Linked DNA regions of Homo sapiens: regions 2, 3 and 4 are each linked to region 1. Evidence: promoter capture Hi-C in 16 types of primary human blood cells and fetal thymus (Javierre and others, 2016). All regions are on one chromosome and are shown on one strand. Each heading gives the region's core, a stretch centred on a gene start or on the middle of the fragment in contact. The rest is flanking DNA. Distances are from core to core; before and after follow the strand shown.

The links. Contacts are between HindIII fragments. The CHiCAGO score rates a contact against its expected background, and 5 or more counts as called.
Region 2: a contact is called between a fragment that was not itself captured here and the fragment with the promoter of CD244 in region 1, in 2 of 17 cell types (megakaryocytes and total CD8 T cells). The highest score is 7.9, in megakaryocytes.
Region 3: a fragment that was not itself captured here is called in contact with the fragment with the promoter of CD244 in region 1 in 2 of 17 cell types (total CD8 T cells and M2 macrophages); the score reaches 5.4 in total CD8 T cells.
Region 4: a contact is called between a fragment that was not itself captured here and the fragment with the promoter of CD244 in region 1, in 1 of 17 cell types (megakaryocytes). The highest score is 5.2, in megakaryocytes.

Annotation. Positions count from the first base shown.
Region 1 is chr1:160,860,942-160,864,352 of GRCh38, reverse strand. CD244 (CD244 molecule) reads left to right here and starts at 1,466. Exons shown (of 9, transcript NM_016382.4): 1 at 1,466-1,736. The coding sequence starts at 1,676. RefSeq lists an enhancer at 1,601-1,650. The HindIII fragment of the contact is 2,100 bases long and covers 1,439-3,411 here.
Region 2 is chr1:160,679,709-160,683,312 of GRCh38, reverse strand. It overlaps CD48 (CD48 molecule), which reads left to right. Exons shown (of 4, transcript NM_001778.4): 3 at 1,845-2,111. It overlaps LOC124904439 (endogenous retrovirus group K member 18 Env polyprotein), which reads right to left and starts at 107. Exons shown (of 1, transcript XM_047438433.1): 1 at 1-107. RefSeq lists an enhancer at 1,790-1,879. The HindIII fragment of the contact is 2,742 bases long and covers 1-2,632 here.
Region 3 is chr1:160,619,736-160,623,339 of GRCh38, reverse strand. SLAMF1 (signaling lymphocytic activation molecule family member 1) reads left to right here. Exons shown (of 7, transcript NM_003037.5): 5 at 3,491-3,564. Among named protein-coding and RNA genes, the nearest start is that of SLAMF1, 26 kb to the left of the region's middle. The HindIII fragment of the contact is 1,693 bases long and covers 1,122-2,814 here.
Region 4 is chr1:161,013,626-161,016,862 of GRCh38, reverse strand. The region is part of intron 1 of F11R (F11 receptor); the gene reads left to right. Among named protein-coding and RNA genes, the nearest start is that of F11R, 5.9 kb to the left of the region's middle. RefSeq lists enhancers at 361-958, 2,600-2,819, 3,230-3,237. The HindIII fragment of the contact is 7,117 bases long and covers 1-3,237 here.

The sequences.
Region 1 (3,411 bases), core at 217-2,716:
AAAGGAGAGAAGAGATGATAACCATTAGACCCGCTGGAAAAAGCTATTCAGAGCTTAAAAAAATGAAAACAAAACCACAAAAACCTCATCTATGTCCAGTGTTTTTTGTGTGCATATTCTGGAGTATCATTTTTAATTTGATCCTGAAAACTGCCTTGTGAAGGTGGGGAGGATGTATTGTTGACCCTACAGGCTCAGACAGCAACAAGGCCAGAATCACATAGGTTGTAAGTTGCTGAATGGGAGCTGCAAGTCCAAGTCTTTGACTCTAAATCCAGCGCTCTGTCCAGAGCCCCGCTGCTGCCTCTGTTGGCAGCTGAAGCTGTCAGTCTGCTGCCCCCTGCCCAGTTCAGACAGGGTGGCTGGAAATGGACCAAAGGATGGAAAAAGAGAATAAGAGCGGACTTGAAGGGAACTGAAAGTATTTGTTAAGGGGAAAGCAGAAGGAAGAAAGAAAGAGGCATGAACCCTGGGGCCTGGCCTTGAAGCACAGTGTTCCAGGGGAGGGGGGATGCCGCTGTCCCCACCCCTCCATGGGGGCCTAAGCAGATCCAGAGCTGCCTGGCCTTCCTGGAGGGTGGCGTCCAAGCATGGATGGGAAGGCAGCAAAAATAGGCCCATGTCACTTCTGGGAGAAGACAAAAGAGGGAAGAGAGGACTACTATAGAAAAGTAGAAAAAGAGGAAGGGAGGGAATCTAGGCATACAGATCGGAAATGTGGAGCAAAACAAAATTTTTTTTTTTTTTTTTGAGACACAGTGTCGCTCTGTCACCTAGGCTGGAGTGCAGTGGCGTGATCTTGGCTTACCGCAACCTCCACCTCCTTTGCTCAAGTGATTCCCCTGCCTCAGCCTCCCAAGTAGCTTGGATTACAGGTGCACGCCACCCAGCCTGGCTAATTTCTCTATTTTTAGTAGAGGTGGGGATTCACCATATTGGCCAGGCTAGTCTCGATCTCCTGATCTCAAGTGATCTGCCTGCTTCAGTCTCCCAAAGTGTTGGGATTACAGGCGTGAGCCACTGTGCCCCGTGTGAAACAAATTCTTATGAAACAAATTTAATTTACATGTGCTTAAACTTTGGTGTCAACTTGCATGGAATCCCCAGGCTTGCTAGATTTTTCTAGTGCCTCCAGCCCTTAGGTCTCTTCCTATGTTCTCTCAGCTACTCCTCCTTTCCTTCAACACTGTTAGCCGCTTATCCAGGGCCCTACGTTTCAGCCCACTCCTCCTCCAGCCCCTCTCCACTCCACCTCCACAATGTCTGTTGGAATGGAACAGTTGGGGATACTGGCTGTTTGGCCCCCATGGGGGTCTCTCCATATAGGATTCAGAGAATTGGAAGACTTCTTGGGCTGAAGCAGAGAACGGGATGCAATTTTGAAACTGGCTTTGTGAGTCACTGTGAACTTCAAGCACCCTCCCACTTGAGGTAAGCTTCACCAGTTTGGCTTGTGGGAACTGTCAGACCAGCTCCAGGCGCTGGGGCTTTCTCAGTGGCCTTGTCAGCTCACAGCAGGCGTTAACAGCCTCTAATTGAGGAAACTGTGGCTGGACAGGTTGCAAGGCAGTTCTGCTCCCCATCGTCCTCTTGCTGACTGGGGACTGCTGAGCCCGTGCACGGCAGAGAGTCTGGTGGGGTGGAGGGGCTGGCCTGGCCCCTCTGTCCTGTGGAAATGCTGGGGCAAGTGGTCACCCTCATACTCCTCCTGCTCCTCAAGGTGTATCAGGGCAAAGGTAAGGAGGTCCTACCTGGCGTGGGGCGAGGGAGGGACTAGGAGCTGTGCCCCTCAGGGAGATCAGAGCCAGAGCCTCTGCTTGTGCCACATACACAGTCATCTGGAACTTGACTCCGAGCAGCTCCTGACAGCTCTGACAGTCTAAATCAGACAGGACAGGCTGGCAGTGCACTGGGAGGTCTGTGAGAGGGGTATCTGGCCCTGCCACCAGCAATCCAGGAAGTCTTGGGTGAGGAGATTCCTTCCCACTGGCTTCAATTTACCCTTCCGTGTAGTGGAGAGAGAAGCCTCCTTCCAGCCGCCTGTAAAGATGATGAAAATTGCATCCTCCAATTGTGGCATGAGAGAAGAGAAGCAGTCCCAAGGAAGTGGGTGGTTCTCGAGCTCAGAGACAGATGGATGGACCCCTGAGGCAGGAAAGCTGAGCCCAGGGAGGGGAGGGCGAGGCCAGCAGCCAGGAAGAAGCTGGAAGGCATGGTCCCTCATCTCCCCGGCTTCTTCAGCCATCCAGATGCCACAGGAGCCTGGAAATTATTAGGGACATGCAGGGTTGGGGCAGAAGAAGGAGACAATATGAGGAAGCTCCACAGCAAACCTAAAGCTGTCAGCCAGGCATGGAGCCATCTAACATTTACTCCTGGGGATCCCAGCTGAGGGCTGCTCCCCTCTTTCTCCAGTTCTGGGGTCCAGGATGCTCTGAAACCTGGATCCCGCATTTAATTTAATTGAATTAATTTATTTATTTCATTTTTAATTTTTATTTATTTATTTATTTTTTGAGACAGAGTCTCCTTCTGTCACCCAGGCTGGAGTGCAGTGGCGTGATCTTGGCTCACTACAAACTCTGCCTCCCGGGTTCAAGTGATTCTCATGCCTCAGCCTCCCGAGTAGGTGAAATTACAGACGTGCGCCACCATGCTTGGCTAATTTTTGTATTTTTAGTAGAGACCAGGTTTCACCATGTTGGCCAGGCTGGTCTTGAACTCCTGACCTCAGGTGATCTGCCCACCTTGGTCTCCCCCATCCAAAGTGCTGGGATTACAGGTGTGAGCCACCATGCCCAGCCAGGGTTCTGCATTTTAGATCAGTGACTCTGCAGGGGCTTCACGGAGGTGGAGAGCGTGGAATTAGAGGAGGGTACACTCTGGGCACAAAGAGGGGAAACTGAGGCATAGTGTTGTGTGGGTTCAGGGCCAGGTAGAAGCCCCATATGCAATAAAGTCCCATGCCCAGGTACTCAATTCAGTTACCGAGTCCCTGAGCATTCTTGTGTCCTTCAGGAAGACACAGTCAAGGCTCAGGTGGACTCAACATTTGTAAGGATGCAGGCAGCCTAGGGCAGAGCATGATGAGGAACAGGGAGCAGGGAGGGAGGAGTGGAGCCTGCAGCTCTTGTGGGTGGGTTGGGGGGCCTAGTGGCCCAGGATTCTAGGCAGGAGAGCTAGGTTGGAACCTGGTCTAAGGATCCTTGAATGCAGCTCAGACAGCCGAAGGAGGACTGATGGGATTGGTGCCTGGCTGTGGGGATGAGAGTAACAGAGAAGCTGAGGTTATGACCCTGAGGTCATGAGCCTGTGTGACAGAGGGCAATGCTCCCTCCACCCCCATTCCCAGGGCTTCAGCACCATAGCTGGGCTTGGCTATGCCGGCCCTTGCACGGTGAAGCTGGTGAG
Region 2 (3,604 bases), core at 12-2,511, 180 kb after region 1:
CCAGCCCAAGCATTTCTGACAGCTCAAAGCGAGCATCTTGGAGCTGGACAACCCAAGCTGGCTCAATTAATTCCATCAGCAAAGTGCCCAGTGCTGTGCTGATCACCATGGGAAATGCAGAAGGAGTGTAAGATATGAGGCTAGAACACAGGAAATGGTGAAAACCAGGATAAAAATTGCTCAATTAAAACATATAGGGGAAGTCCAGGAAACTTTTATCACCTCTGTAGTCTGAGCAATCTTTTAGCGATCTGAGATCAGCTTCACAGAGGAGACAAAACTAGAGTTCTAGAGACCAGATTGGTAGAGCTTCTAGAGCCTCTCCACACATACAACCAAGAGGCAAGCTCTGATCTGGTCAATTCTCTGCCAATTTTTAATCTTATGGGATTTGAGTTGCATTGATTCTGCAGATGTTTCACCCTGACCAGAATGAAAAGATCTCAGAGGATTGCAGGTAAACCGGCCTTAGCCAAGGAAGGACCAGATGCTGGGACTATCTCTCATTCTCTCCGGCAGCAGTACAACAGTAATAATGGTAAAATGGCCTCTAGAATGTATGCAATACTTACACTCTTCAAAAAGCAATTATCCATGACAGGTGACGTTTTATCTTACTAACATTGCGCGATGAGGTAGAGTCAGTTTACAGATGACAGCAAGGGGGTTAACTACCTTGCCTAATGTCACTCCACTAGAGTCAAGTCCAGGACCCAGGCTGGTCTCACTCCAAAACTAGTGTTTTTGTGTCTACTTGCCTCCCTCCCTCCCTCCCTCCCTTCTTTTTCTTTTTCCTCTCTTCTCTTCCCTTCTCTCTCTCTTTCTTCCTTTCTTTCTTCTTTTTTTTTTTTTTTTGAAGGTCTTCTCCTTACCCAAGCTGGAGTGCAGTGGTATAATCATAGTTTATTGCACCCTGGAACTCCTGGGCTCCAGCAATCCTCCTACCTCAGCCTCCTGAGTAGCAGGGACTAAAAGTGCACACCACCACACCTGGCTACTTTTCTTTTCTTTTCTTTCTTTTTTTTTTTTAGAAACTGAGTCTCTCAATGTTGCCCAGGCTGGTCTCTTAACTCCTGGCTGCAAGCAATCCTCCTGCCTCAGCCTCCCAAATTGCTGAGATTACAGGTGTGAGCCGCTGCACCCGGCTGTGTTTTATCCTTTCTATCTCATAACTACTTCATTCATCCTTTCATGAGATACTTATAGAATACCTGCCATGTGGCAGGGATTGTGCTAGACATGGAGATACCAAAGTTAGCAGACCAATCTGTTTATCACAATTGATGCGGCTGGAAGTTACATGAAGTTCTTCTCTGTAGCTCTGCCAGAGTCTAGAAGGCTGGCACCTGCACTGGATGGTTGTGCAAAGGACTTTGCCACGCGCAGACAGGTACCTCTTACCTTAGGACTCTTGCTGAAGCTGAATCCGATAATTGGAAAGACAGACCAGCCAAGGTGCCCGCCATGAACCGTTGCTAGAGAAGGGTCCCTGAGCATCTCAGGCAGTTGATATACTAAGTCTGACCCCAGCAAGTCTCTGGGCTGTTCGTTCAGGCTCACACACGATCATAACCCCATTTTGTTCCCAGAGCATATGATGGACTGTGGCGCCCCCTCCAGGACGCAGCTTAGCTTCACTGCCTAGAAGCCGCTCTTGCAGTGAGTCTGTGAGGCCTCAGGAGGTCAAGGCTGCTCACTGGCTCCCTCTGTAGAACTTCTTCTTCATGACTCTGCCTCCTGGGGCATTCAGGCCCCTTCCCTGGATCCCTTTGTTCTTTGTTGGCTAAACCTTCACAGCATGAATGCCTCACTGTCTCATCTTATAACATCCTCCTCACTTTCAGACCCTGTACCCAAGCCTGTCATCAAAATTGAGAAGATAGAAGACATGGATGACAACTGTTATCTGAAACTGTCATGTGTGATACCTGGCGAGTCTGTAAACTACACCTGGTATGGGGACAAAAGGCCCTTCCCAAAGGAGCTCCAGAACAGTGTGCTTGAAACCACCCTTATGCCACATAATTACTCCAGGTGTTATACTTGCCAAGTCAGCAATTCTGTGAGCAGCAAGAATGGCACGGTCTGCCTCAGTCCACCCTGTACCCTGGGTAAGAAGGATCCCTGGGAGCTGAGGGGGGCACAGGGTAACTGGAGTTGTTTTGAACAAAGAAAGGCTGGGGGTCCTATTCAGCCTCCTTGCACAGTGTGGTGGTGAATCCCTAAGGTGTCTGGGAGAGCTGGGAGACGTGGGTTCTGCCACCAGCTCTACCACCACCTCCCAGCCAGCTTACCTCAACTTCGTGGGGGCTCAGTGTTCTCACCTGCAAAGGACGTTTGGGAGAGATCTCTGATACTCCTCTTCCCTCTCCCGCTCTAACAAAGCATAGTCCTAACATCTGAGGCCAGGGTCATCATAGAGTAGACTGAAACATCAGGGTGAGCAGGGAGAAGGAAGGGCAAGTGGGCGAGCAGCTGTCTAGAGGGGCTTCATTAGACAGCCGAAGTCAGCCAAGGAAAGAGGGACCGAGGTCATTAGACCGCCAAAGTCAGCCAGGGAAAGAGGGACTGAGGAGACGGGCCTGAGAGAGGCCGTCGAGGAGGCGTGAGAGCCTGAGCCTCAGGCGAAGCTTCTCCTCCCCAGCCTGATGTTCCTAGATGAACTTAGGAAGCCAGATTCCCCTGTCTCCTGGGAGGATCCACTCATGAGTGTCACACCTGGCTCTAGATCAGGCCTACACTGGTGCTAGCATGGGACAGCTAAGGCCATGGGTTTTAGAGTCAGTCATACCTGGGGTCACTTCTAGGACTGTCACTTACTAGCTAAACAAGTTACTTAGCTTCCCCAAGTCATGTTCTTCCTAAATAAAGGACAAAATAACAGTTCCTATCTCGTGCTAAGGATTCAATGAGACAAGACACGTAACTGCCTATCACAGTGGCTGACAAGTCCTTAGTAAGCGGGAGCTAAATGAGACGCAGTCTCTTAGAGTTTTGGGGACCCTTAATAAACTTGGATCAATATCTCCAGCACTCTGGGAAATACCAGAGTCAGATACCCTCCACAATCCTGAAGTCAGATCCCTGAGCCCTAGCGTACACATTCTTCTAGAATAACTCAGACCTGAGGTGCTCACATTCACCTGTGACCCCTGTCATGCCCAGTCATCAGGGATTCTGGCCTCTGAGAACGTTGCTGTTTTGTGGTCTTCCTGGGCTCTGTCTACCCTCCTTAACTGCACTGATTTCTTTATCTCTACTCCCACATGTGGACTACGGAGACTGTGTATGCTCTTCCTTATTCTTCCTAACTAATTGGCCCTGTCTCTACCAGCCTCTCCTGATATGCCTTGCTCTTCTGCCACCACAGACCCACTGTGACAGTGTGGTATCTGACCATGAGAACACAATTTGGCTGGTGGTTCCAACACCACCCTCATATCAATATCACATCCTGAGATCCAGAAAAAGGAAGACGCACATTCCCTGTCCTCTATAAAATGGGTGTGACTGTTCATCCGAAGAGAGGATAAAAGCAATAATAAATCCATTTTTTTTGGAAGGGTAAACCCATCTGTCACTTTTTAGTCACCGAAATTATCCT
Region 3 (3,604 bases), core at 719-3,218, 240 kb after region 1:
ACTTGTGTCTCATTTCCTCCATCTAAGAGTTAGCCAGGTAGGAGGGATGGGTGATTCAGATAGAAATTAGGTTGACAGCCTATGGGGCTCGGGGTAGGGCAATCACATTTAGCTCATACTATAAGGAAATAGTGAGATGACCCAGGATGAGAAAACTGAACTTAACTTATCCACATTAACCTACCTAGTAAAATTGCTGGGATCCTACGCCATACTCTTTCCTCAACCACACTTGGCTTATCACATGGTTGTGCTCTAAGGGAATAGTGCTCCCCATCCCACAATTCCCCACTACCTTCCCCAACACACATACCCATCCTCACCTCAACCCCATTCACCATTTGTCCCTTGTAAGTTAGCAACACACAAAACTGCCTCAAACTTGCGGTAAAATTTATATTTAGTTGCTGCACCTTTCATAAAACCTTGCTAAAGAAATTATATTGGCAGCTTCTAATGCTATAATCATCAGAATGCAGCCTGACGCTGAAGGCTTTTCAATTTCATGACTCTTTGGCAATTTCATGTCCAGGAGAATACACTGATAAAGAATGTGGGTATAGGCATTAGACAAACTTACATTCAGATGCAGATTTTGCTACTGACAAGCTGTGTGATCAAATGACTTAACTTCTCGTCTGCAAAACAGGGGTAATACTATGTACTTCATGGTATTGTGGTGGAGATTGGTATCAATACACAGAAAACACTGAACACAGTGGTTCCCATCGATGGGTGATAGATAGATAGATACATAGACAGATAGATACATAGACAGATAGACAGATCTCTTAGTGTAGATGAATTAAAATGGCAATGTGTAAGTGCTATGGCCAGGAGAAGCTGCACTGGAAGCATCTGGAAACAATACCTAGAACAGATTGAAAATATTTTAAGTCATGGTAACATAAGACTTTATGCTTCAGGTAAAAGCTGAAAAGGATATTAGATACTCTATGCCCTCATTTTACAGTTATGGTAAGAGAAAAGACCCATTGAGATGACGTGATTTGTCCAATGCCACACAGCTAATGATGGCTACAATGTAGATGTCCTAATTTTAAGGCCAAGACTTTTTCCTTAGAGCCTAAGACCTTGCTGACTTGGAGCCGAGTTAAGCTTACTCCTAAAAACCTGTTCTTGCACTGGGGAAAATAACCTGAGACTAAATTATCTTGGTCCAATGGTCCTTTTAAGCAGCAACAATCAACCTCACCTCTTCCATCTGTCTGACCATTTAGGACTGTCCTTCCAGTTCTACATTTGACTCTGAGCTGACCTGCAAGACTGAAAGTCTTTGAGGACTGTAGTCTGTTCTCTACTCTATTTGTAGCCACTACAGCACCTAGGAGAGTGCTGGGCAGGCATGTCTTACTTTGCAAACACTCGTGGGGACTAACTTGAACCTCCTCTGCTACCTCCAACTGCTTCTTGAGTCCTCCCCTCCATTTTACACACACACACACACACACACACACACACACGCACTCACGCACACTCCTCAGTCAGGATCAACTCTGACCAAAAAAGCGAAGTTGAAACCACTAGGCACACCGTGCTCATACCCACACACAAAAAATCCCATGTTGACTTTCCTTGAATTCCTGGAACTTCATCAGTGTCTGCCCCACATTTCCTCCCCAAGACTCACACCCTCACGCAGCACATTCCACCATGCTCACCACATACACACTGGGCCTTTCCCTTCCAAAGAAAAATGTGCCTCTCCTAAAAATGCTATTTCCTCAGAGATGTGCCTTTTTTTTTTTTTTTTTTTTTTTGAGATAGATTCTTGCTCTGTCACTCAGGCTGGAGTGCAATGGCATGATCTCGGCTCACTGCAACCTCTGTCTCCTGGGCTCAAGCAGTTCTTCTGTCTCAGCCTCCTGAGTAGCTGAAATTATAAGCGCGTGCCACCATGCCTGGCTAATTTTTGTATTTTTAGTAGAGACAGGGTTTCCCCATGTTGGCCAGGCTGGTCTCAAACTCCTGACCTCGTGATCTGCCCACCTCAGCCTCCCATAGTGCTGTGATTATAGGCGTGAGCCACTGCACCCAGCCCAGTTTTTTAAGAGAATAAATTAACTGGTGTTAAAATAAGTCTACCTTAAAGGCTGTGATTTTCTGGGTCCAGCCTCCATTGCCTCTGCCTGGACTTTGCAATAATCCCATAATAAACCTCCATCCTTCAGTCTGCCACTTTCCCACCATCCTTACTGCTGCATGATGTATACAAAGGATACTGTGCAACTTTAGAAAGAATGAGATAGGTCTACTGTGCTAACATGAAAAATGTCCTCAATACATTTTAAGTGAAAAGATCAAGTTACAGAGAAGTGTGTGCAGAATGACACCTCTTGTGTGGAAAAAAGTCTATATAAGTATAGCAAATATCCAAAACTGCATTGTCTAATATGGTAGTCACTAGCCACATGTGGCTTTTTAAATTTAAATTAATTTGAATTAAATAAAATTTAAAATTCAGTGACATTAGTCACAGTTCAGGTGCTCCATAGCCCCGTGTCTGTAAGCTGTATTAGACACTGCAGATATGGAACATTTCCATCATCTCAGAAAGTTCTGTTGCACAGAGCTGATCTACAGGGATATACATCAAACTTTTAAAAATGGTTTCTTCTTTTTTTTCCCACTTCTTTTCACAGGTATTGAAAAATACGGTTTCTTTTGGGAATGAAATTGGGTTGGTTAATGGAAGAAGGGGATTTATACTTTTTACTTTATACTTTATATATTTCTTCACAATTTTTATTTTATGATGAGAATAAATTACTCCTATAATTTAAAAAGAAAGCTTTTTAAAATTGGCTAAAAATTAAAATATTCTGCAACTTATTAATTTCCAGAGACCCTAGGCCCTGAGCAAAATTTCCAGATGGTGGGCAACAGAATGACATTGTTGCTTTATTTTCTAAATAGTCCCAGGTGGAACATCCCTCTTACACGTCCCCCCGCCCTTACCTCCCACACATCAATTCCCCCAGAAATAGGGAGGTGAGAAAGCTGTGAGTGAAGCAACATACTACCAGCTGGAAAATACAAAAGAGGTATAAACAACTAGCCCTGCCCTCAAAGAACTTAGAATCCTATTAGGAGACCAGATATGCACATTGAGCAACAGAGATTAAAGTAATTGAATGGTACACCAATGAGAAAAACACCTAATGCGTATTGGGCATTTGTTATGCACCAGGCAGTGTTCTAAACACTTTACAAGTGGTATCTCATTTAATTATCACAACAGCCCCGTGAGGCAGGTATTTCAAATCCCATTTCACAGATAGGCCTAGAGTGATCAAGTAACTAACCTAAGACAATATGACAAATGTGCAGGGGGGCTGGGACTCAGGGCTTTGTTTCCATTGTGCCCTTGGGGAAAGTGGGTATGCAAAGGACAGTAAAGACCAGGTCTGAGTAAGGAGCTCCTGCTGGGGACCAGAGGGAGATAACCATTATGGTTTCTTTTCACCAGGTAAAACGAACCATTACCAGACAACAGTGGAAAAAAAAAGCCTTACGATCTATGCCCAAGTCCAGAAACCAGGTGTAAGTTCTATATTTTGTTTGAGATGAACCTGTCATGTTT
Region 4 (3,237 bases), core at 127-2,626, 150 kb before region 1:
AATCTGATCTCTCTTGCTTTTCCCCACACTGGTGAGTCACTCCTCCTTTCCTCTCCCTCTACTCCCAGGAGTGAATTGTTCCCTCCAAACTAGAAACTGGTGACTGGCACTTCCTAGTTCTACCTGGAACTAGGAAACGAGTGGCAGTGGAATTTCAGTGTCCTTTAGTCTTTGCCTTCTGGCTCCAGATCACTTTTTTTTTTTTTGAGACGGAGTCTCATTCTGTTACCCAGGCTGGAATGCAGTAGCATGATCTTGGCTCACTGCAACCTCCACCTCCCGGCTTCAAGCGATTCTCCTGCCTTAGCCTCCCCAGCAGCTGGGACTACAGGCACGCGCCACCACGCCCGGCTAATTTTTTGTATTATTTATTTATTTATTTGTTTTTGAGACAGAGTCTCTCTCTGTCGCCAGGCTGGAGTACAGTGGCACGATCTCGGCTCACTGCAAACTCCACCTCCCGGGTTCATGCCATTCTCCTGCCTCAGCCTCCTGAGTAGCTGGGACTACAGGCGCCCGCCACCATGCCTGGCTAATTTTTTCTATTTTTAGTTGAGACGAGGTTTCACTGTGTTAGCCAGGATGGTCTTGATCTCCTGACCTCATGATCTGCCCGCCACGGCCTCCAAAAGTGCTGGGATTACAGGCGTGAGCCACCGCGCCCGGCCCCTAATTTTTTGTATTTTTAGTAGAGACGGGTTTTCACCATGTTGGCCAGGCTGGTCTCGAACTCCTGACTTCAAGTAATCCTCTTGCCTAGGCTTTCCAAAGTGCTGGGATTACAGGCGTGAACCCCTGCACCTGGCCACTCCAGACCACTTTTACCTCACCATGTTGCTCTTCAGTTCCTTTGTGATCATGTCTTGTGGAGTCTCCAGCCCAGTTCCGATTCAAGATAGAGCTACTGTGATTTTTTTTAAAAAAATTTAATTAGAATAGGTTAATTGACATGGTTTTATAATTAAAATGATATCAAAGGGGTGGGGTATCTCATTCCCATGTTGCTCCTGTTCACCCCAAACCCCAATAGTTTCTAATGTCTCTTCAGTGTTTCATTTTACAGATACAAGTATATATAAATAATACTTGTTTTTTCTCCCCTTTCTGACACAAAAAGAGGCATACTACATATATTCTACATCTTGCTTATATATATATATCATGGAGTTTTGTTGTTGTTGTTGTTGTTTTTGAAACAGGGTCTCACTCTGTTGCCCAGGCTGGAGTACAATGGCATGATCATAGCTCACTGCAGCCTTTTTTTTTTTTTTTGAGACAAAGTCTTGCTGTGTTGCCCAGGGAGGAGTCCAGTGGCGTGATCTTGTCTCACTGCAGACTCTGCCTCCCAGGTTCAAGTGATTCTCCTGCCTCAGCCTCCCGAGTAGCTGGGACACAAGCGTGCACCACCATTCTTGGCTAATTTTTGTGTGTGTGTATATATATATATATATATATTTTTTTTTTTGAGATGGAGTCTGGCTCTGTCACCCAGGCTGGAGTGCACTGGAGCAATCTCGGCTCACTGCAAGCTCCGCCTCGCGGGTTCACGCCATTCTCCTGCCTCAGCCTCCCGAGTAGCTGGGACTACAGGGGCCCGCCACCACTCCGGCTGATTTTTTGTATTTTTTTTAGTAGAGACGGGGTTTCACCGTGTTAGCCAGGATGGTCTCGATCTGCTGACCTCGTGATCTGCCTGCCTCGGCCTCCCAAAATGCTGGGATTACAGGCATGAGCCACTGTGCCCAGCCTTTTGTACATATTTTTTTAATTTAATTTTTTTTTTTTGAGATGGAGTCTTGCTCTGTTACCCAGGCTGGAGTGCAGTGGCGTGATCTCGGCTCACTGCAAGCTCTGCCTCCCGGGTTCACGCCATTCTCCTGCCTCAGCCTCCCAAGTAGCTGGGACTACAGGCACCCGCCACCATTCCCTGCTAATTTTTTTTTTTTTTTGTATTTTTAGTAGAGATGGGATTTCACCATGTTAGCCAGGATGGTCTTGATCTCCTGGCCTTGTGATCTGCCCCCATTGGCCTCCCAAAGTGCTGGGATTACAGGTGTGAGCTGCCCGGCTAATTTTTGTATTTTTAGTAGAGATAGGGTTTCACCATGTTGGCCAAGCTGGTCTTGAATTCCTGACTTCAAGTGATCCGCCTGCCTTGGCCTCCCAAAGTGCTGGGATTACAGGCATGAGCCACCGTGCCTGGCCTCACTGCAGCCTTGACCTCCTGGGTTCAAGCAATCCTCCAGTCTTAGCCTCCTGAATAGCTGAGGCTATAGGCAAGTGTGAGTGGTGAGCCATACCTGGCTAATTTTTTATTTTTTTAGTACAGACAGGGTCTCATCTGTTGTACAGGCTGGTCTTGAATTCTTGGCTTTAAGGGATCCTTTTGCCTTGGCCTTTCAAAATGCTGAATGACAGGTATGAGTCACTACACCTGGCCCATATTGGTTTCTAGGGATTGTGGCCTTGGCTGTTAGGATACATCCCACCCCCCTCCAAGTCAGCTGAGTTCAATTTGCACTTGTTCTGTGGACACATAAATGGGCAACACACGTTTCCACCACACCCAAAAATAGATTTAAATGCCATGCACATTTTATGTGATAATAATGAGACTTGTTTATCACATCTGTTAGGTTTGACTAGAGACCCTGGAGATCTCTAAACTCAAACCAGTTTCTGTTTCAGAGATTCAGGAAAGACCTGGATGACCTTGCGTCCAACATAATTGAGGATGAGGTTTCACTATTGTGTGACGGTTGTGGAAAGCAGTATGAGTGAACACATACTGTGAGAGTGGATACACACTAGGGTTTTCCTGGCATTGAGAACCCAGAGTTCATCTGCCTGGACTCCCTGATAAGCAGGGTTTCTGTCTAAAGTCCGGCTGCGTCATTTGTTTCACAATGTAGGGGCGGAACAGGAGGAAGCAGCTGGCTGGCAGGAAGTGGGTGCTGGGCCCCTGAAGTAAGTCCTGCGCTGGAAGGCTCGACCTTCCCTTGCACTGGGAAGATGGGGTGGCGGGGGAGCTGAGCAGGTAGAACCGGAAATTCTGCAGAGAGGGCGGGAGGGAGCCAGGGAGTGAAAGCGAGCCTGTCTTACCCTGCCATTACCACTTTCTGCCATCCTCAGAGGACCCGAGCCAGCTGATCGACATCACTGAAAGTGCAGCCAAGGATGGCTATTTAGACATAGCCCAGCCTGTTGTTGGCCTCACAGAGCCTTCCTCTTGCTCAC